7 separate regions of the Homo sapiens genome follow, and regions 1, 2, 3, 4, 5 and 6 are each linked to region 7. Evidence: promoter capture Hi-C in 16 types of primary human blood cells and fetal thymus (Javierre and others, 2016). All regions are on one chromosome and are shown on one strand. The core of a region is centred on a gene start or on the middle of the fragment in contact, and the rest is flanking DNA. Distances in the headings are between cores, read along the strand shown. Region 1 overlaps CPEB2 (cytoplasmic polyadenylation element binding protein 2). Region 2 overlaps CPEB2 (cytoplasmic polyadenylation element binding protein 2). Region 3 overlaps CPEB2-DT (CPEB2 divergent transcript). Region 4 overlaps CPEB2 (cytoplasmic polyadenylation element binding protein 2). Region 5 overlaps CPEB2-DT (CPEB2 divergent transcript). Region 6 overlaps C1QTNF7-AS1 (C1QTNF7 antisense RNA 1). Region 7 holds the start of FAM200B (family with sequence similarity 200 member B).

What was found. The method cuts DNA at HindIII sites, captures the fragments that hold promoters and counts their contacts. A CHiCAGO score of 5 or more calls a contact.
Region 1: a fragment that was not itself captured here is called in contact with the fragment with the promoter of FAM200B in region 7 in 2 of 17 cell types (non-activated CD4 T cells and naive CD8 T cells); the score reaches 6.3 in non-activated CD4 T cells.
Region 2: a contact is called between a fragment that was not itself captured here and the fragment with the promoter of FAM200B in region 7, in 9 of 17 cell types (naive CD8 T cells, total CD8 T cells, naive CD4 T cells and 6 more). The highest score is 9.2, in naive CD8 T cells.
Region 3: a contact is called between a fragment that was not itself captured here and the fragment with the promoter of FAM200B in region 7, in 11 of 17 cell types (non-activated CD4 T cells, naive CD4 T cells, naive CD8 T cells and 8 more). The highest score is 16.5, in non-activated CD4 T cells.
Region 4: a contact is called between a fragment that was not itself captured here and the fragment with the promoter of FAM200B in region 7, in 1 of 17 cell types (neutrophils). The highest score is 5.4, in neutrophils.
Region 5: a fragment that was not itself captured here is called in contact with the fragment with the promoter of FAM200B in region 7 in 1 of 17 cell types (non-activated CD4 T cells); the score reaches 5.5 in non-activated CD4 T cells.
Region 6: a contact is called between a fragment that was not itself captured here and the fragment with the promoter of FAM200B in region 7, in 2 of 17 cell types (neutrophils and monocytes). The highest score is 6.1, in neutrophils.

What each region holds. Positions count from the first base shown.
Region 1 is chr4:15,031,905-15,034,604 of GRCh38, reverse strand. It overlaps CPEB2 (cytoplasmic polyadenylation element binding protein 2), which reads right to left. Exons shown (of 12, transcript NM_001177382.2): 5 at 1,394-1,444. The region is part of intron 2 of C1QTNF7-AS1 (C1QTNF7 antisense RNA 1); the gene reads left to right. Among named protein-coding and RNA genes, the nearest start is that of CPEB2, 31 kb to the right of the region's middle. The HindIII fragment of the contact is 662 bases long and covers 922-1,583 here.
Region 2 is chr4:15,014,529-15,017,228 of GRCh38, reverse strand. CPEB2 (cytoplasmic polyadenylation element binding protein 2) reads right to left here. Exons shown (of 12, transcript NM_001177382.2): 4 at 1-41. All of the region lies in intron 3 of C1QTNF7-AS1 (C1QTNF7 antisense RNA 1), which reads left to right. Among named protein-coding and RNA genes, the nearest start is that of CPEB2, 13 kb to the right of the region's middle. The HindIII fragment of the contact is 626 bases long and covers 1,014-1,639 here.
Region 3 is chr4:14,997,935-15,000,634 of GRCh38, reverse strand. The region is part of intron 3 of CPEB2-DT (CPEB2 divergent transcript); the gene reads left to right. Among named protein-coding and RNA genes, the nearest start is that of CPEB2-DT, 2.8 kb to the left of the region's middle. The HindIII fragment of the contact is 4,228 bases long and covers 1-2,700 here.
Region 4 is chr4:15,058,597-15,061,296 of GRCh38, reverse strand. CPEB2 (cytoplasmic polyadenylation element binding protein 2) reads right to left here. Exons shown (of 12, transcript NM_001177382.2): 10 at 1,996-2,110. The region is part of intron 2 of C1QTNF7-AS1 (C1QTNF7 antisense RNA 1); the gene reads left to right. Among named protein-coding and RNA genes, the nearest start is that of CPEB2, 57 kb to the right of the region's middle. The HindIII fragment of the contact is 7,637 bases long and covers 1-2,700 here.
Region 5 is chr4:14,980,417-14,983,116 of GRCh38, reverse strand. All of the region lies in intron 7 of CPEB2-DT (CPEB2 divergent transcript), which reads left to right. Among named protein-coding and RNA genes, the nearest start is that of CPEB2-DT, 20 kb to the left of the region's middle. The HindIII fragment of the contact is 2,659 bases long and covers 84-2,700 here.
Region 6 is chr4:15,075,992-15,078,691 of GRCh38, reverse strand. All of the region lies in intron 2 of C1QTNF7-AS1 (C1QTNF7 antisense RNA 1), which reads left to right. Among named protein-coding and RNA genes, the nearest start is that of CPEB2, 75 kb to the right of the region's middle. The HindIII fragment of the contact is 2,605 bases long and covers 146-2,700 here.
Region 7 is chr4:15,680,382-15,683,081 of GRCh38, reverse strand. FAM200B (family with sequence similarity 200 member B) reads right to left here and starts at 1,255. Exons shown (of 2, transcript NM_001145191.2): 1 at 1,181-1,255. It also overlaps a transcript of FBXL5 not described here. RefSeq lists enhancers at 986-1,035, 1,046-1,285, 1,456-1,755. The HindIII fragment of the contact is 4,207 bases long and covers 141-2,700 here.

The DNA of each region.
Region 1 (2,700 bases), core at 3-2,502, 650 kb after region 7:
TACCTTGCCAGAAAAAGTTCAGAATTTCCAGGCTGGCTTCCTGTACTGAGTATGCATTGTGGCCCCAAATGACTACTAAGACTACTCACATAATACACAAAGCCGACTTGTCCACAAGATGCAACTCTTGCCTGAAATAAAATACTCTTCTTTCTGCCATGTGATGAAACACTTTTCAACCTAACATCTAGATTATTTATAAGGGCTTTTCCCAACTGACAAAATCATCCATTAGTTTAATAATGTTTAGTATAACTAATAATGTAAGTTGCAAATACACTGTGGCTACTAAGCTCTTTGCTTCCACATGACTCAGTATGGCCCCAGGCAATTCTGACCACAACCATCCTGTAGGATTCTCACTAATTAGATAACCGAGTGCTTAGACTAGACTGGCATGCGCTAGACAACTAAACAGTGAAATACTGAATGATTAAATCAATCACCTCATCTAATGCTCTGCCTTCTTCAATTTTTCTCATTGAGAATCCTACTTACCCTGACCATCTCCTACGTGGCCTGGACTTTATTTCCATCCTTCTGTCTTAATATTAGTTCACATAGTCTAGCTTCACATGTACCTTATTTTCAGTCTTTGTTCCTCAACTTCATTGCCATCTTATTTCAGCAAACCTTCAGTTGAAATACAAGAGCCAAGCCATTCTAATGATATTTTTTTAAAGTAAATATTAATACTATTTCTATTCTTTCCCCTTCCTATTTCCCTCTCCACACCCACCCTCTGACTTAAAAATACTCCTGTGAAGGATATTTTAATCTTCCATCTCTACTCCCACAATCACGGAAGTGCTAAGTACTGAGACTCTGAATATGTTAATGTTTGTCTAACAGAAAGAAAACTAACTTTAATGAAATTTATTTATTATTTTCCTTACTTTGGTGAACTTCTCTATGTAAGCTTTCTAGTTTGAGTAAGTTTAGTGTGATCACAATATTTATAGAGTTACCAGTATATTCCTTATTTAACCACAAACACAATGCTATACTAAGTAACAAGTTCTATGCCTTTGCAAACATTTCATTTAAATCTCACAATAAACCTTGAGACTATATTCTCATTACAGAGATGGGGAAACTAAGGTAATAGTAATCTGTCCAAGGTCATACCTGAAACTGGAAAGGCAATATTCAAACCAGGACTGCCTCCAAGTCCGTGATCACTGAATTAAAGTCATACTGTTACAAATGGCTGCTTTACCAGCCCGAACACACTCAGATTCCTAATTCTGCCTTTTGCATAGGAATAGTTGTAACTTTATTTTTATGCTCATAGAATGATTAAATTGTGTGTATGGACAGGTTCAGAGAAACATGTATTAAATCATCTTTACATAAATCAACTGGAAACATAAAATGTTTTTATAAAACTTACCATTTAACATCAACAGATTGTCAGTTCCTGGATGTGGATAGCTCAATCGACCTTTAAAAAGACAGGAAAGGTGAGTTTGAAGATTATGGAGTTATTTGAAAAGCAAAAACAAAAAAACAAAAAACAACAACAAAGGCAGCATAAAGAGAAAATTATTGAGCACAGTATATTTCTTAAGAACTAAAAAGCTTATGTTCAACTAAAAGTATATTAACTAAAATTATCTTTGGAAGTTGAAAGCAAAACAAAAAGTTAACCTTAGTTCCTAGATCATAAGAATACAATGTGATTTGGGAGCAATGCCAATAGAATAAAGCTTATTTATTTTTGGAATGTAAAAACAATATATCTATCATATCCTAGTCTTGCAAATTTAATATGAAATGTGAATTTTTAAATTTTTTCAAAGTTGTTTGTAATTTTATCTATAGATCTGTCAAAAATAAAACTTGAGAGAATTTCATATTCCTAAATCAAAAACAATTAAAATGTTAAAATAAAAAATAAGCAGAAAAATTCATCTCAACTTGCCAATGTGGCTTTATAAAGTCATATTTAAATAAATTAGTTTAATGAAAACATCTTATATTACAAATATTATTGAAAATTTAACTTCTTCAAAGTTTATAAATGATTAAAAATATAAAAAAAATTAAAGCTGATGAGTATAGTGGCATAGTATTTCCTCTGAGTCATTCTTCATTCGAAAGTTTTTTATTTACTAAATGCAGAAGGGACAACAGTATTACAAACTGCTGTGGAGAAGAAAAAAGGTATGCATGAAACATTCTGTGGTTTATCCAGCATTTTTACATCATAACACTTATTTGATAAATGCCAATAGCAAGGATGACCATTATTTTTAGTCTATATTATAAAATACAGGATTTTTCTCAAATTCCTAAATCTCTAATAGACTATTAGAATAGTACATTAAAACCCATTTAGAGGCTGGGCATGGTGGCTCATGCTTGTAGTCCCACCTAGCTGGGAGGTAGAAAAAGGAAGATCACTTGAGCCCAGGAGTTTGAGCATGTAGTGAGCTATGACTGTGCCAATGCACTCCGGCCTGAGCAACAGGGCAAGACCCTGTCTCTCAACAAATGAAAAAAAATTTTTTTAACTGATTTGAAAAATGTCTAAAAATTAAATGTCTGGGATTACATTTTAGTAATTTTCAGCACAGTCCCTTTAAAAACAAAATAATATGCTAGCACACAAGTAAGGAGTACAGATGAACTGCATCTACCTTTACCACCTCAGCAAGTCCTCTACAGATTAACTGCATCTACCTTTACCACCTCAGC
Region 2 (2,700 bases), core at 77-2,576, 670 kb after region 7:
AAAGAGTGCATATTCAAACTGTCATACATTCTACTTCGATCCTGGAAGAGAAGAGGAAAAAAGACATTATAATCTATGCAGTTTTTTCAAAAAGCGATTATAAAACACTATCTAAATTCTCTTACATAAAATAGGACTTCTGATTATTACTAATTAATCTGTATCCCACAAAAATACCAATAACTAAAGATCTCATGAACTACAATGTTCCTTGCATTGGAGGACATTATTTTCAGTATATTTATCTCTTAAAGCTTTTATCAAAAGTAATCTAATTTTACTGGCAATACTAATGCAAAACAGTAAAATAATTTCTATAGTTACTTTTCTCTATAAAGTTTCCTGAAATCTTATACACACAGAAAGCATTTTTTGGTTAATTTCAAAACTTTTCTCACATATTTAGGAAGACAGATAGTGGCACATAGAAAATAAATATTTGGGAGGAAATATTTTAGTTCCATAATTGCACCATACTTTAAACATCTATCAAACATTTTGTTATCTGACATAGTAGTCTGAATTTAATAATGAGTGCATAAACATCTTATACGGTAAAAATCAAAAGCATAAGATACTAATAACCAGAACAGGGACTAATGCCTAGAATATTCAGATTCATATATTACTCTCTAAAGTGCTTCCATATTTGTCTCTGCATTTTTAAGCCGGCCTCCCCCAACTCCCCTGCAAAATAGGCAGGTGGAGGAGAGAAGAGTAAAAGCACAGTAATCTCATTAAGTCTGCTACTTCACCAAGTCTCCAAAGTCTTGTTATCAGAATCTTCTTTGCTGAATGTTCAATCCCTTCACTTGCTTATTTGAAAGAATCTGACTCTTTAATGTCCATAAATTTCTACTGTATTCTGTTCAATACATACTCAGTGTACCTGAAAAAAGGTATGTGGTGAACTACTAGAGGAAGCTCTGGCCCATGCCCTCCAAATAATCTAGGAGTCTTCCCAAAATACTCACCCACCCAGTTACATATGTGTATACACGCATGTGTAAGCTTATGTATACGTGGGGGATACAGGATAGTCCATTCTAAACTCTCAAAAAATGACTGTCACAGAAAATGGAAAGGAAGAATCTGAAAATTAAGTGGAAATAAAAGCCCCCATAGAAATCAAAATAAGGCACTTATTAACCTGGGTCCATTAGCTTCAAGAGAGACCAGAAGTCTCTGAGATTATATGTAATATACTGTTCATAGGTGTACAGTAGTCCCCCCTTTCTGCATTTTGCCTTCCACGATTTCAGTTATCTGTAGGACAATACAATAAGATATTCTGAGAGACAGAGATGCCACATTTACATAATTTTTATTACATTGTTATAATTGTCCTACTTTACTATTATTGTTGTTAATCACTTACTGTGCCTAATTTATGAATTAAACCTTATCATATGTCTTCATTGGAAAAAAACAGCATATGAAGGCACTATTTGCAGTTTCAGCCATCCACTGATTGTCTTGGAACGTATCACTCATGGATAAGGGGGGACTAGTGTGTACATAATTTCTTTTTTTCCCGAAGAAAAGGTTTATAGCTTTCATCAGTTTTCCACAGGAGTCCACAATCCAGAGAAGATTCAGAATCAGTTCTTTAGAAAGCTGAAGAAAAACCTAAAAAGCTTTTCTAAGAATATGTTCATTTATTTACTTTACTTTGATGTTTAAATTAGGGTTGTAGCCTTTTTAAAGCTAGGGGTTCAGAATCAGTACTGTAGACTAAGTTGCTGTCAGGGATTTAAAAAGGTAAAAAGTAACACTGAATGACGGAAGGAATGCTAGACTGGAGGCTCTTATTCCAGCTTTATCACCAATTAACTCTATCAGTACTCTTTACTGATTTTTACTGAAAGGCCCCTGAGGTAAAACACATGCATCAATAACAGCTGCTCTCTAGAACAGTGACCTTGATTAGTGATGGAGGCACAAAGAATCAATGAGCTGTAACAGTGGTTCCTAAACTTGAACATGCTTCAGAATCATCTGGAAGGCTGGTTAAACACACAGACTGCTGAAACACATCAAATTCAGTAGGTCTGGAGTGGAACCTGAGAGTATGTATTTCTAACAAGTTCCCAGGTGATACTGATTCTGCTGGTCTGGATATCACACTTTATAAGAAGCAATTAGTTTCTTCGTCTGAAGTCACTAAATCTCTCTAGGCTCTGGTTCTAACTCCTAGAAAATAATCATGTCAGACTAGATGATGCCTATAGTCTCTTTAAAAATTCTAGAAAAGAAAAAGACTCAAAATACTCTAAAATAAATGAAATATTAATAAAACTGAAACAGAGAATAGGATGGCCCATATGGGCAAAAATGACATATTAATTTTAGGAATCTATCCAGATATTTCCATCTTCCCTGTGCTTCCACTATACTGTGTTCATAACTAATTTGTTGATTTTCCTGTCTGTCCCACTAAACTTCTAAGTTGATTAAGAATAGGGACTATCTAATTACAGAATATAGTTAGTTCTCATGTCTGTTGAATGAATACTTCTTTATCTCTACCATAAAAACTCAATAAAAAATGTAAAAAAAAAGTCGAGTTCTGTAAGGAGAAAGACTGTACTTTTTAAATAGTAATGGTAAAGGACTATAAAACTTTCTCAGAATCCTCAACGGAACAGGTAGTCAAATGTTAATTGACTAAACTGAGACAAGCATCAGATTAACGTGGCT
Region 3 (2,700 bases), core at 103-2,602, 680 kb after region 7:
TCTAAATTACAATGTCTAGAAAATAACCTGAGCTCAGAATTTAAAATATAAATGGTTATTTTCAGAGTATATATTGACATATTAAATATTCATTTTTTAAAAGGTATTGTGCAGGAAAAAAAACTACTTCTGCAACTAAGGAATGTAAAGTCTTAACAACGGATGATTTTTTTCCAAGTACAGTTGTATTTGATTGGAATCATTTGCAGATCCAACAACAAATCTTGAAATAGGGGGAAAATACAGGTATAAACCTTAGCTCAATTATCCACTAACACCGCAGTTAGTAAAGAGGAGAGAGCACATACTTTTAAAAGCTAACTGGTGCCTTTCTGGGCTAGAGTTTTGAACAAAAACAAGATTTCTTAGTGCTCTGGTACTAGTTTTGTCTTAGAGGATTTAGAGCTCTCTGAAACGGGGAAAAGCCATCAAGTTTGTTATTACATAATAATGTCAAACTTCATATTAAATACACCAAATTCCAAATCCTGCCAGGGCCTCTACTCACTACTTTTGTGAGGGCCCCATTTTTTTAGAGCAGAAAGTTACTTTCTGACATCTTGTAAGCTGGTGATCTTGCCCTTATTGAAAATATTCAAATGAAAAGGTTTCCTAGGGTGGAGAGTGGAGTGGGGTAGGGAGAAGGAGCAGCAAATACTGAGGAGGGACTATGGTCCTCTAGCAGTTTCCATGCCAAGATCTTATGAGTCCATTCAATGATTTTTTTGGTTTTTTACATGAAAATATTTTGACTCATGATCATTAACTAGGACCTTGACTTTGTATTTGACAGTCCCTTATTCATTTACTCCCACTGTCCTGGGCAAGTATTTTTAAAAGTATTTTTGCTACAACCCAATATATGTGCAAGTACACACTCATGCAACTGAAATAAAGCTGCTATTAAGCAATTCTTTTAATAATGCAACAAACTCCTTTTTATAATTCTATTTTCATTTTAAAATCACGTTTGATCTCAAATTACAAAGTTGGTTTTAACACCCTCTATCAGATTATGAACTGAAAAACCACTGTCCTAGACCATTTCAAACATTCTGCTCAATCTGAAAACCTCTTGTCACATCTCTCCTACATGCATCTGCTAGCATGTAGCACTCTCAGCTGCTGAGCTACATGCTTATTTCACTGAGAAAAAAGAAGCAACCACAGGAAAACTTCCACAGTCTCCCTGCATCTGTCCCTGCACACCTTGCCTTCCCTCTCGATACAATGGATGGCCCATCTGCCCATACTCCTGTCTAAGGCCAGCCTCTCCACTGGCGGAGCAGATCCTACCTCTAACCTACTCAAGACATGGGCTCCAACAGTTTTCTCTCTCTGTCCTTCATCATGACCTCTTTCCTCTCCAGGAAACACTTCCATGTGCACAAAAACTTGCTTTACTAGTTCTCACCTTTGAAAAGTAAAGCCAAAACCTTTTGACCTTATATTCTCCCTCCTTTAGCTACTGCCTTCTTTTTCTGCTTTTACATTGCCTGAACGACTTGCCCATTTGACTGAGTGTCTCATAGATACCTCAAATTAAACACGTCAAAAATTAAACTCCCTGCCTCACTAGGCCCAATCCCTGTGGCGCTCCATTGTTCTGGTTGCTCAGGCCAAAAACCCTGGAGTCATTCTTCACTTCAATCCACTTCTGTCCTTCTTGCATCATATCCAAGCCATCAGAACATGTTGCTTGTCCTACCTTTAAATTACTGGCATAACCTAGAGATACCGTGGGTTTTGTTCCAGATTACCACAATAAAGCAAATATCCCAATAAAGCAAGTCACACCAATTTTTTGGTTTCCCAGTGCATGTAAAAGTTATGTTTACAGTATATTATACTCTAAACATAAGTTCTCAATTATAGTCTAAACATAACTTGTAATTACATTTAAATAAGTGCACAGTAGCATTATTCTGAAAAATATACACACATTAATTTAAAAATACTGCTAAAAAGTGCTAATGATCATCTGAGCCTTCAGTAAGTCATAATCTTTTTGTCAGTGGAGAGTCTTGTCTCGACATTCATGGCTGCTGACTGATCAGCATGGTGGTGGCTGAAGGCGGAGGTGGTTGTGGCAATTTCTTAAGACAAAGATAGAGTTTGTCACATAAATTGAATCTCCCTTTCATGAAAGATTTCTCTGTACCATGCAATGCTGTTTGATAGCATTTTGTCCACAGAACTTCTTTCAAAATTAGTCAGTCCTCTCAAAACCTGCTAATGCTTTATCATCTAAATTTATGTAATATTCTAAATCTTTTTTGTCATTTCAGCAGTGTTCATAGCATCTTCATGAGGAGTAGATTCCGTCTCAAGAAACCACTTTCTTTGCTTATCCATGAGCAGCAACTCCTTCTCCATTCAAGTTTTATTGTAATATTGCAGCAATTCAGTCACATCCTCAGGCTCCACTTCTAATTCTAGTTCTCTTGCTATTTTTACTACATCTGCAGTAACTTCCTTCACTGAAGTCTTGAACCCCTCGAAGTCATCCAAGAGGGTTGGAATCAGCTTCTTCCAAACTCCAGTTAATGTTGACACTTTGACCTCCCATGAGTCACACATATTCTGAATGGCAGCTAGAATGGTGAATCCCTTCCAGAAGGTTTTCAATTTGCTTTGCCCTTATCCATCAGAGAAATCACTATGGCAGCTATAGCCTTATGAAATTTATTTCTAAAATAA
Region 4 (2,700 bases), core at 13-2,512, 620 kb after region 7:
CCTAACTTTCAATCCTTGCAACACTATCTACACTCCTGGCTTTGGTACCTTCATCCTGTATCATAGCTTTAAACACCATCTATATGTTTTTAAGCTCCTACATTTTTATCTCTAGTGTGGACCTCTCCCATGGATGCCAGACTTGTACATGCAACTGTCTACTGGACAACTCGATATTTAACAGGCACTGGCCACACTCGGTATATTAAAAATGGAACTCATAATCTTCCCTTATCCCATTAAACCTGCTCCAATGAGTTTCTGCTGACCCAGTTAGAAAGCAACAGAAAAGATGAAGTTGTCAAGATCTTTGGCTTCATTCTTTCTGTATTCTTCCCTTGCTCCATACTGCACATGCAATCCTGTAAACTTGATTTTAAAACATATCTAGAGTCCAATTGCCTCACCTCCATCACTAACATCCTGATTCATGCTAACATCATTTTTCATCTGGTTCATGGCAATAACCTTATCTCTCTTTGCTTTTGGCCCTTGCCTTCCCAGCTTTTTAAAACAGTATAAAGAGTGATTCTCTTAAAAAATACACCAGATACCACCATAAAAATACATAAAAAAATATACCATATACCATGGTTTAATTGAAATTTCTATTTGGGAGCTCTGAATGGTGCCATAAACTTGTGTTCAAAACCAAGACCACAATCTTCCCTCCCTATCTGCTCCTTCTCCAGTTTTCCTTCCATCTCAGTAAAAGGCATCACTATCCACCCAGTGGCTTATGACTGAAAGATGAGATTCAGTCTTTGTGTCTACCTCATAAACATCTGTCACCTCTGTTCAGTTGGCTTTCTCCACTGCTACCACTAATCCAAGCCACCATTGTCTATCTCCTGGATTGTAATAATAGGATGTTAAACTGGTCTGCCCGCATTTACTCTCACCCTGGCCCCCCTCTCTCTGAATCATTAGCTAAAGTGAACTTTGAAAACTGCAAAGATAATGAAGTCTCTCTTTTGCTTAAAAACTCTTCAATGGTTTACCCTTGCTCTGAGAATAAATACCGAGTTAGTCTATTAGACTTGTATGATTTGACCCCTTCCCTCACTCCTTGTATCCCAAGTCAGGCACTTTGGGCTTCTTTCAGTTCCTTCAAAGCACCCTGTTTCCCTCCACTCAAGACCTTTAAATAAGCTGTTCCCTTTCTGTGAAACACATTCCTCAGAACCCTGCTACCACCCTGATCCTACTCCTTTTGCCCAGTCTTTATATGTCAGCTCAACTACAAATACCTTCAAGATATCAGACTTCAAATACCTTCAAGATATCAGATATCATATTTCCTTGCTACATGCTCTTCTGTTCCCTATAGTACTTCTTTGTAGAAGTCATCATATTCTATAAGTATTTCCATGTATGAATAGTTCTTTAACATATATCTCTATGACTGGGGAGACGATGTTCTCAGTGATGGAAATCACTAACACTCTACACATGGTGCACAGTACCATCTAACAAGTGCAAAGTGGGCATATACATCTACAATTATATTCCTCTGTGACATATTTTGGTAGGTTTTTGGTTCCTAGTTATTGATAAACAGAAGTTTATCATCATTCACTTATCTAAAGTGCTACTTTAATGATTAAAATATAGATAAAAGAGAAAAAAATCCCATATTTCTTTTTCAGATATCAGAATCGATCTACACAAAATAAACAGACCCCAAATTCTCTTATCTCAGAGAGGTACACTTAGGAAATCGGAAGTATTTAGGTGGATTCTTATAGATTTGCTTTGAGTTAGCTACTGCACTAATATTGATAGATAAGTACCCAATTCTCCAGTTGGAGAGTTTCAAGAGGGGGCCTCAGAATTTGTTTCAAAATTCTGTAGTTAGCAGCAATTGGTGCATGCAGAATCTGCTCCTGCTCTGTCCAATAGTGTCATGTACACAATAGCTTCCAAACGTTTATTAAATTGACTAGGACATATTTAAATGATTTTTTTAAACAAAATTGTTAACATTCTACTTACCAGCCCTTAATGGCCTAGGAACACCTCCAACAAAAATTGTTTTTCGGGGATCCAAAGGCTGAGAACCATCCATTACAAAATCACTATCACTTAAATTCCAAGGACGTATTTGAACCTATGAAGAAAATTACATTGGGTCTTACTCCCTTGATGTCTTATGAGAATTTTCTGTTTGTTTGTTTTTGCCAGTTAATAGTGATTCTTTTATTGCTTAAAAATTTGTATAGTGGGATCTGGAAACAAATTATTTTTATAACTTTTGTTGATCTAGATACTATAAATCCGCAGTCTCTGACCTTTTTGGCACCAGGGACCAATTTTGAGGAAGACAGTTTTTCTAAGGATGGAGGTGGTGGAGGATGGTTTCGAGATCAAAGTGTTCCACCTCAGATCATCAGGCATTAGATTCTCATAAAGAACATGCAACCTAGATCACTCGCACGTGCAGTTCACAATAGGGTTCGCATTCCTATGAGAATAGAGTGCCATCTCTGATCTGACAGGAGGCAGAGCTCAGGCAGTAATGCTGGCTTGCCTGCCACTCATCTCCTGCTGTGTGGCCTGGTTCCTAAAAGATCATGGACCACCAGTACTGGTCCACTGCCCAGGGGTTGGGGACTCCTGCTATAAATTATCTGGATGTTTCAAAAACTAAAACTCAACATGGTAGTTTAATTGTTCTTTTATTAATTAACAATCATTTCA
Region 5 (2,700 bases), core at 164-2,663, 700 kb after region 7:
TCTGTTCATGGTGTAAGCAGGTAAAAAAGAGGGAATTGTTACTTCAACCTGGGGCATTGGGGAAAGGCTTCATTGGAAAAGCTTAGTACTTGAGTTGAATCTTAAAAGATGTGTAGGTTGGGGGTGAGATAGAGGGAAATGGGAAGAACATTCTAGAAAGAGGTATCGGCAAGAATAGCCAAGCCTTGGAGGAGACAAATAGTAGGAAATGTTATAGAAAGGGAAGAGGGTGTTGCCTAGATGGAGCAAAGGGGTGAGGTGAGGCCATTTGAACAAGGCTGGAGAAGTAACGGAAATCAAGCCAGTCGAGACAGGGATTCATCACTGAAAATCCACTTCCAGGACCTGCACCCAACACAGGACCTGTATATGGTTACATAATTTGAACATTCCCAGCAGTTTGTCATCTAGTATCTGAGATTCAGGGCTTCAGGGATGCTGGATACTTTTACTAACATATTCTATGGTGTTTTATATAGGTCCTGGCAAGATTAACATTATTATTTTCTATGATGACAAATAACTAATACGAAATGAGGATCCGTTTGATCTTTCATATAAGGTCTAGAGAATGTTTCTTCACAGTTACCCCAGACCTTTGGTATAGCATCTGTTTTTCAGTTCTAATGCAAAAGTATGTTACTGAGATTGAATATTAACTACTGGTAATATTCATTCCAAATACCTATTTTCATCAAATTTCTTTTTTTTATCTTTTAAGTTCAGGAGTACACGTGCATGTTTGTTACATAGGTTAACTCGTGTCATGGGGATTTGTTGTACAGATTATTTCAGAGGTATGGAGCCTAGTACCTATTAGTTATTTTTCCTGATCTTTTCCCTCCTCCCACCCTCCACTCTCCAGTAGATACAGGGGTCTGTTGTTCCCCTCTATGTGTCCATGTGTTCTCATCATTTAGCTCCCACCTGTAAGTGAGGATATGTGGCATTTGGTTTTCTCTGACTGCGTTAGTTTGCTAAAGATAATGGCCTCTAGCTCCATCCATGTTCCTGCAAAGGACATGATCTCATTTTTTATGGCTGCATAGTATTTCATGGTGTATATGTACCACATGTTCTTTAGTCTACCATTGATGGGCAGTTAGGTTGATTCCATGTCTTTGTTGTTGTGAATAGTGCTGCAGTGAACATACACGTGCATGTGCCTTTATGATAGAACGACTTACATTCTTTTGGGTATATACCCAGTAATGGGATTTCTGGGTCTAATGGTAGTTCTGTTTTTAGCTCTTTGAGGAATTGCCATACTGCTTTCCACAATGGTTGAACCTGATTTACATTCCCAGCAACAGTTCCATCAAATTTCCCAAAACATAAATATGTAATACTTGTGATATGCCAGACAATGTTATATGCATTTTACTAACAATGCAATGAGAGATAGGCATCTTCATTATCCCTAGCTGATAAATAAGGAAACAGTAGTCGAGTAACTTGCCCAAAGTTATAAGCTAGTGAATGTGGGAGGTGGTAATTGTGCACAGGCAACCTACTCCAGAGATCTTAGGCCTGATTATCATTTATCTACTCTTCCAATTTATATATTTTTTTCAAACTAAATCACTGGACAGATTTTTAATTTCTTTTCACCACTTGTTTAATAGACATGACACTATATTATGTTAATATAATTCACATATACAAACATTACATGCCCATATGTGATACATGATAGTTATTATAGATCAGTAGTTCTCAACCCTGGATATACATTGAAATCATAAAGTGAGGGAGATTTTTGTTTGTTTGTTTTTGTTTTTGTTTTCGTTTTGTTTTGTGACAAGTTCTCATTCTGTTGCCCAGGCTGGAGTGCAGTGGCCCGAACAAGGCTCATTGCAGCCTCGATCTCCTGGGCTCAAGCAATCCTCCTACTTCAGTCTCCCAAGTAGCTGGGACTTTAGGTGCACTCCACCATGCCTGGCTAATTTTTAACATTTTTTGTACAGTCAAGGCCTCATCATGTTGCCCAGGCTGGTCTCGACTTTTGGGCTCCAGCAGTCCTCCTGCCTTGGCCTCCCAAAACGCTGGGATTACAGGTGTGAGCCACTGAACCTGGCCCATGTGATGAATTTTTAAAAAAATTGTTATTGGCTTAAGCCCCACCTCCAGAGATTCAGATGTAATTGCTTTAGGTGAAGCCTGGACATCAGTATTCAAGAAACTCCCCAGGTGATTCTAATATCCATCTGGGGTTGAGAACCACTGTACAGACCAATCATTTATGGTTTACTTCAGGCACTGTACTATATATTTTATACACATTATTGTCATTTCACATGACAACATGATTAGATAGGGTATAATTATTGGTGTTTTACAGATGTGGGAATTGAGGAACCAAGGGGTTATATATAATTTGCCCAAGTTCACACACCTAGTAAATTGCAGAGACAATGTATGAGGTAAAACCACATTTTCTTAGTTGTAACTACCATGCATTAAAATTAATCTGTGTCATAAATTAATTTATCAGCATTCTGGAATATATTTATTTGTATATACATGCTAAAACTCTTAAAATCTCAATAATTTAACCAATTTTCCATTCGGTCTGTTAAAAATACCTTTGAAACTAAATTATATATCTATTTCTATTATATACAATATATATTTTATATTATGTAATATATTGTTATATATGCCATGTATTTCTAATATTAACCTTTTCATTTCATCTTT
Region 6 (2,700 bases), core at 199-2,698, 600 kb after region 7:
TCATCATGTTGTCACATTTGGCAGGATTTCTTTCTTTTTTGAGGCTGAATAACATTCCATTGTATATATATACCACATTTTGTTTGAAGAGTCTTTGACTTTGGTATTAGGGTAATACTGGCCTCATAAAATAAGTTTAAAAGCTTCCCCTCCTCTTGAAGTTTTTGGAAGAGTTTAAGAAGGATTGGCATTAATTTTTTAATAATTGAATAATATTTTTTATTATCATGTCTTCTCATTCCTAGGAATTTAAGTGATAAAAATCAGAACAGAATCTGAAATAGTCACACTACAAAATCGGTTAGATTTCTCTTGGGATACCACCACATGTGCTCATAAGTGGGATCTAAATGAGGAGAAAATAGACACTTAGAGGGGAACAACATACACTGGTGCCCTTTGGAGGGTGGAGGATGGGAGGAGGAAAAGGATCAGGAAAAATAACAAATGGGGTACTAGGCTTAATATGTGGGTGATGAAATCATCTCTACAACAAACCACAATGACGCAAGTTTACGTTATGTAACAAACCTTGTTTGTACAAGGTTTGTATCCCTGAACTTAAAAGTTACAAAAAAAGGGTCAAAAATTATAAAAAGAATTGCATAATCCTAAGTCATCTATTTATTTAAAAGTGTTTGGTGTAACTCACCAGTGAAGCCATCTTATTCAATTTCCTTACTAATTATAGATCTGTTCAGGTTTTTAATTTCTTCATAATCCAATCTTAGTAGGTTGTATGTTTCTAGTAATTTATCTGTTTATTCTAGGTTATACAATTCGTTCGTGTATAAGTGTTCATAGTAGCCTCTTTTGATCCTATTTCCATGGCATCAGGTAAAATGTTTCCTCTTTCATTTCTGATTTTTTTAATTTAAGTCTTCTCTCTCTCTCTTTTTTTTTTTTTCAATTCTAGCTATGGGTTTGTCAATTTTGTTGATCTTTTTCAAAATCCTACTCTTAGTTTTATTTTTTTTAATTGGTTTTCTGTTTTCTATTGTGTTCATTTCTGCTTTAATCTTTCTTTCTTTCTTTTTTCTAACTTTGGGCTTAGATTGTTCTTTTTCTACTTTCTTGAGGTACAAAGCTATGCTGTTTATTTGAGTTCTTTCTTATTTCAATGTAGGTGCTTATTGCTGCATAATTTCCTTTTCCTGATTTTGTTACAGTCCAAAGGACTTGGTATGTTGTGTTTCCATTTCCAGTTTTCTCAAGATATTCTCAAATTTCCCTTCTGATTTTTTATTTGATTCACTGGCTGTTCAGGAGTGTCTTGTTTAATTTACATATTTGTGAATTTTCCAGTTTTCTTTAGTTATTGATTTCTAGTTTCATTTCATTGTGGTCAGAAAAAAATACTTAGTATGAGATCAGTCTTCTTAAATTTGTTAAGATTTGCTGTGTGACCTAACATGTAATTAATTCAGCACTTGAAAAAAATGTGTATTCTTCTGCTGTTTGGTGGAATATTCCATATATGTCTCTTGGATTCATTTGGTCTACAGTATTGTTTATGTCCTCTGTTTCTTCATTGATTTTCCATATGGAACTTCTATTCATTGTTAAATGTTAGGTATTAAAGTATCCTACTATTGCTGTTTTTCCCTTAGTTCTGTCAATGTTTGCTTCATATATTTAGATACTTCTAATGTTGGATGAATACATATTTAAAATTGTTACATTTTCCTTAATAATTATTTTATCATTATATAATGACCTTTTGTGACAGCTTTGTCTCAAAGTCTATTTTGTCTAGCATAAGCATAGGCATGCTACTCTCTTTTGGTTACAATTTGCATGGAATGTTTTTCCATCTCTTCACTTTCAGTTTGTATATGTTCTTAAATCTAAAGTCAGTCTCCTGTAAACAGCATATAATAAGTTCCTATATTTTATTAATTTTATTTTTATCCATGCAGCCATTTATAATTGGAGAATTTAATTCATTTACCTTTAAAGTGATTGTTCATAGGGAAGAACTTACTATTGCCATTTTCTAGTTTTCTGTCTTTTGGTTCTTGTGTTCTTTTCCTTTCTTGCTGTTTTCCTTTGTTGATTTTTTTTTTGTATTGATATGCTTTGATTCTTTTTTACTTACTTTTTTAAATTTACTTTTTACTTTCTTTTGTGCATATTTTATAGGTGTTTTCTTTGTGGTTACATGGGGCTTACAGAAAACATCTTATGGTTATAATAGTCTATTTCAGGCTAGTATCAACTCCATACAGAAACTCTACACTGTTACTTTTCTTCTCCCCACACTTTGTTCTTGATATTACAATTTATATCTTTTAAAATTGTTTATTCATTAACATATTTTATAGTTATAGTTATTTTTACTGTTTTTGCCTTTTTAACCTCTAAACAAACTAAAACTTATTTACCTATCATATTACATGTCATGGTATTTTCAATCTGTATATATATTTACCTTTACCATGAAGTTATATAGTTTCATATGCTTTTTAATAGATGTTAAGCATTCTTCCTCTTCAACTTGAAGAATTCCCTTTAACATTTTCTGTAAGGCACATCTATTGGTGAAGAATTCCTTCAGATTTTGTTTGTCTGGGAAAGTCTTTATCATGCCTTCATTTCTGAAGAACAGGTTTTGCTGGTTATAGTATTCTTGGATGACAGTTTCATTCTCAGCACTTTTAATATATCATCTCACTGCCTTCTAGGCTGTAAGATTTCTGC
Region 7 (2,700 bases), core at 6-2,505:
ATCTTTTATATCCTAAGATATATCTCTAGTGCGCTGTATCATCTTCTGAAAATACAGCTCTAATCAGCTTCCTCATAACTGGAAAAGCATTTAATGGCGCCGAGCTTGTGTAAGCTCTTCAGGATAATATCCTTTAAGCTTAAGCCTCATCTTTCCAGGTTTCTCCTTCATCACATGATCTCCATACATTCTACATTTCAGTACTAAAAGTATGGAAATTCTTGAAATAGTTCATGCACTTTCATGTCTCTGCTTTTGGCTAGTATTCCTTTTGCCTGGAATACTCTTGTTGGGTCACATGAAGTCCTATTTATTCTTTTCTACTTAGTTCAAATGCTACAGCAGCCATGCATTCAACTAACATTTAGCTACCTACAGTGCCTAAAGTATGTCAGGCACTGGAGATACTAAACAATGAACAGTGACATATTAAAATAACAGAATATCTGTTCAGCTATTAAGATGAATAAGGTGGAGTTACACAACACTGACAAATCTCAAAAACATTATGTAAAACAAGCTAGCTGCAAAAAGATGTACACATTACAGATTGCATAAAGGTGGTTAGGAGAGTGGTTTCCTTAGGCAAAAGGAAAGAGAATGAGACGGGGTAGAGCTGACAAAGGACTTCAATCACTTATATAATCATTTATTTCTCCAATTCAGTGGTGAGTACACATGTGTTATAGTTTTGTTTCTACCTTTTTTCTGTCTAAAATCGTCTATTTAAAAAAAGCATCTTTAAGGCTGGATACCTTCCTGAAGGCACTGGAAATCTGTCATACTGCCACTAACTTAAAATTACCTTCCACCTCTTGCATTTCCCTTTGTTTCCTGTTTTGACATTGCGCACACATTAGTTAGTACACTAGGCCTTAAGAGTGGAAACTGCCAGGTACCAGCTTTAGCTAGATTAAAACATGACCCTCTTCCCAGGAGACTCCTGACCGGTTTTCTCGTCCTCCAGGGACCCAGCTAGGATTTCAATGAACTTTGGCCTGAACCCCTCGGCCGACCCTAGAATAATCGCCCTTCAGGCCCGGATTGCTTCTGCTCTCACCTTCCCTCAATTCATACGGGGGGCAAAACCAGACTGTATTTCCCGCAACGAACCCTGGAATGCTTCGCTTTAGCGGACTCCGGTCCACTCCCATCAGAGGATGCCCTTCTTTCGCCTCACCTCCAGCCCAGCCGCAGCGACCCGGCCGGGCCCAGCGCTGCAAGCCTCAGGTCTCTCCAGCAGAGCTGCGCCTCTGCTCTCCCCACACTTCCCTCCGCAACACCACTTCCGGCCTACCTCACAAATTCCCCATTCCAGCCGAAAAGAACTGGATCGGCCCTCTGCGCATGCGTGAGACCGGGGCGGTGTCCGGGGGTGCCGGGAGCGGGCGGTGCAGGCTCCACTTTTCCACTTCCCTACGCTCTGTCGGCAGTCTCGCGGGATTTCCGCCTCTCGCGGGAGTTATTTGAATGCCAGGGCGGTAACGACTCCCTAGGCGCCTGGGGCCCTCTGACAAGAAACCCTAGGAGACACCGCGGAGAACTCTGCCTCTGAGCTGGTGGGCGGGCCGGATGTAGCCGAGCGCGGACAGGGCTAGTCCGGACAGAGTCCCAGAGCCATGGGAGCGAAAAGAGACTGCTGCGGATTAAGGAGGCCTTTCGGTTGGCGCAGCAGCCACACCACAACCAGGCGAAGCAGGTAGTGGCGCTGAATCGCTCCTGCCGCGGGGTAAGCGCTCCCGGCCCGCGCCCGCCCCAGCCCCGACCTGGCGGGGCCAGGACGCTGGTTCATACACTCCAAGGTGATTTTCATAGTCTTTGTGGAAGAATTAGAGAATTTTGAACTTTGATATCATTGCACGTGTTTACTTATTTAGAGAATCGCATTGTGTTTAATAATCATAGTATTCCTGTGCGACTCTTTAGGTTAGCAGATCATTGATTTTTAACATAAAACTGCATTTCATTAAATAGATTTAAATATGTATGTATATTTCTGTCCTCTAATGATTGTAACAAAGCAGATTTCTTGATCATTAACAAGATAGGTTCGTGCAAATAAGTGCATCTTTGTCACAAACCAAATTTTTTTGTGGTTGAGATATATATTTATATATATATGTGAAACAAAAAACATATAAAGGAGAATATATATATATTCTTATATATATAATATATACTGCTTTATTTTTTTGGGTTGACATATATATGTCATATATAGTTTTTTTTTAAATTCTACCTTAAACAGGGAAACATGTTAGATACAGGAGCTTGAATTTCAACTCTGAAACTTAATGCGACTTTATCAGCATTTCTCTTTCTCAAGCTACTTACTTCTTGTAGGATTACACAGTCAAATTTTTAAAAATTTTTGATTCTCCAACTGGATTTTTTTTTTTAATTTTTGAGACGGAGTCTCACTCTCTCGCCCAGGCTGGAGTGCAGTGGCGCAGCCTCGGCTCACTGCAACCTCAGCCTCCTGGTTCAAGCGATTCCCCTGCCACAACCTCCCGAGTAGCTGGGATTACAGGCGACCGCCACCATGCCAGGCTAATTTTTGTATTTTTCAAAAATACAAAGACGGGGTTTCACCATTTTGGCCAGGCTGGTCTCGAACTCCTGACCTCAGGTGATCCACCCACTTGGGCCTCCCAAAGTGCTGGGATTACAGGGGTGAGCCACTGCACCCAGCCTCTCCCA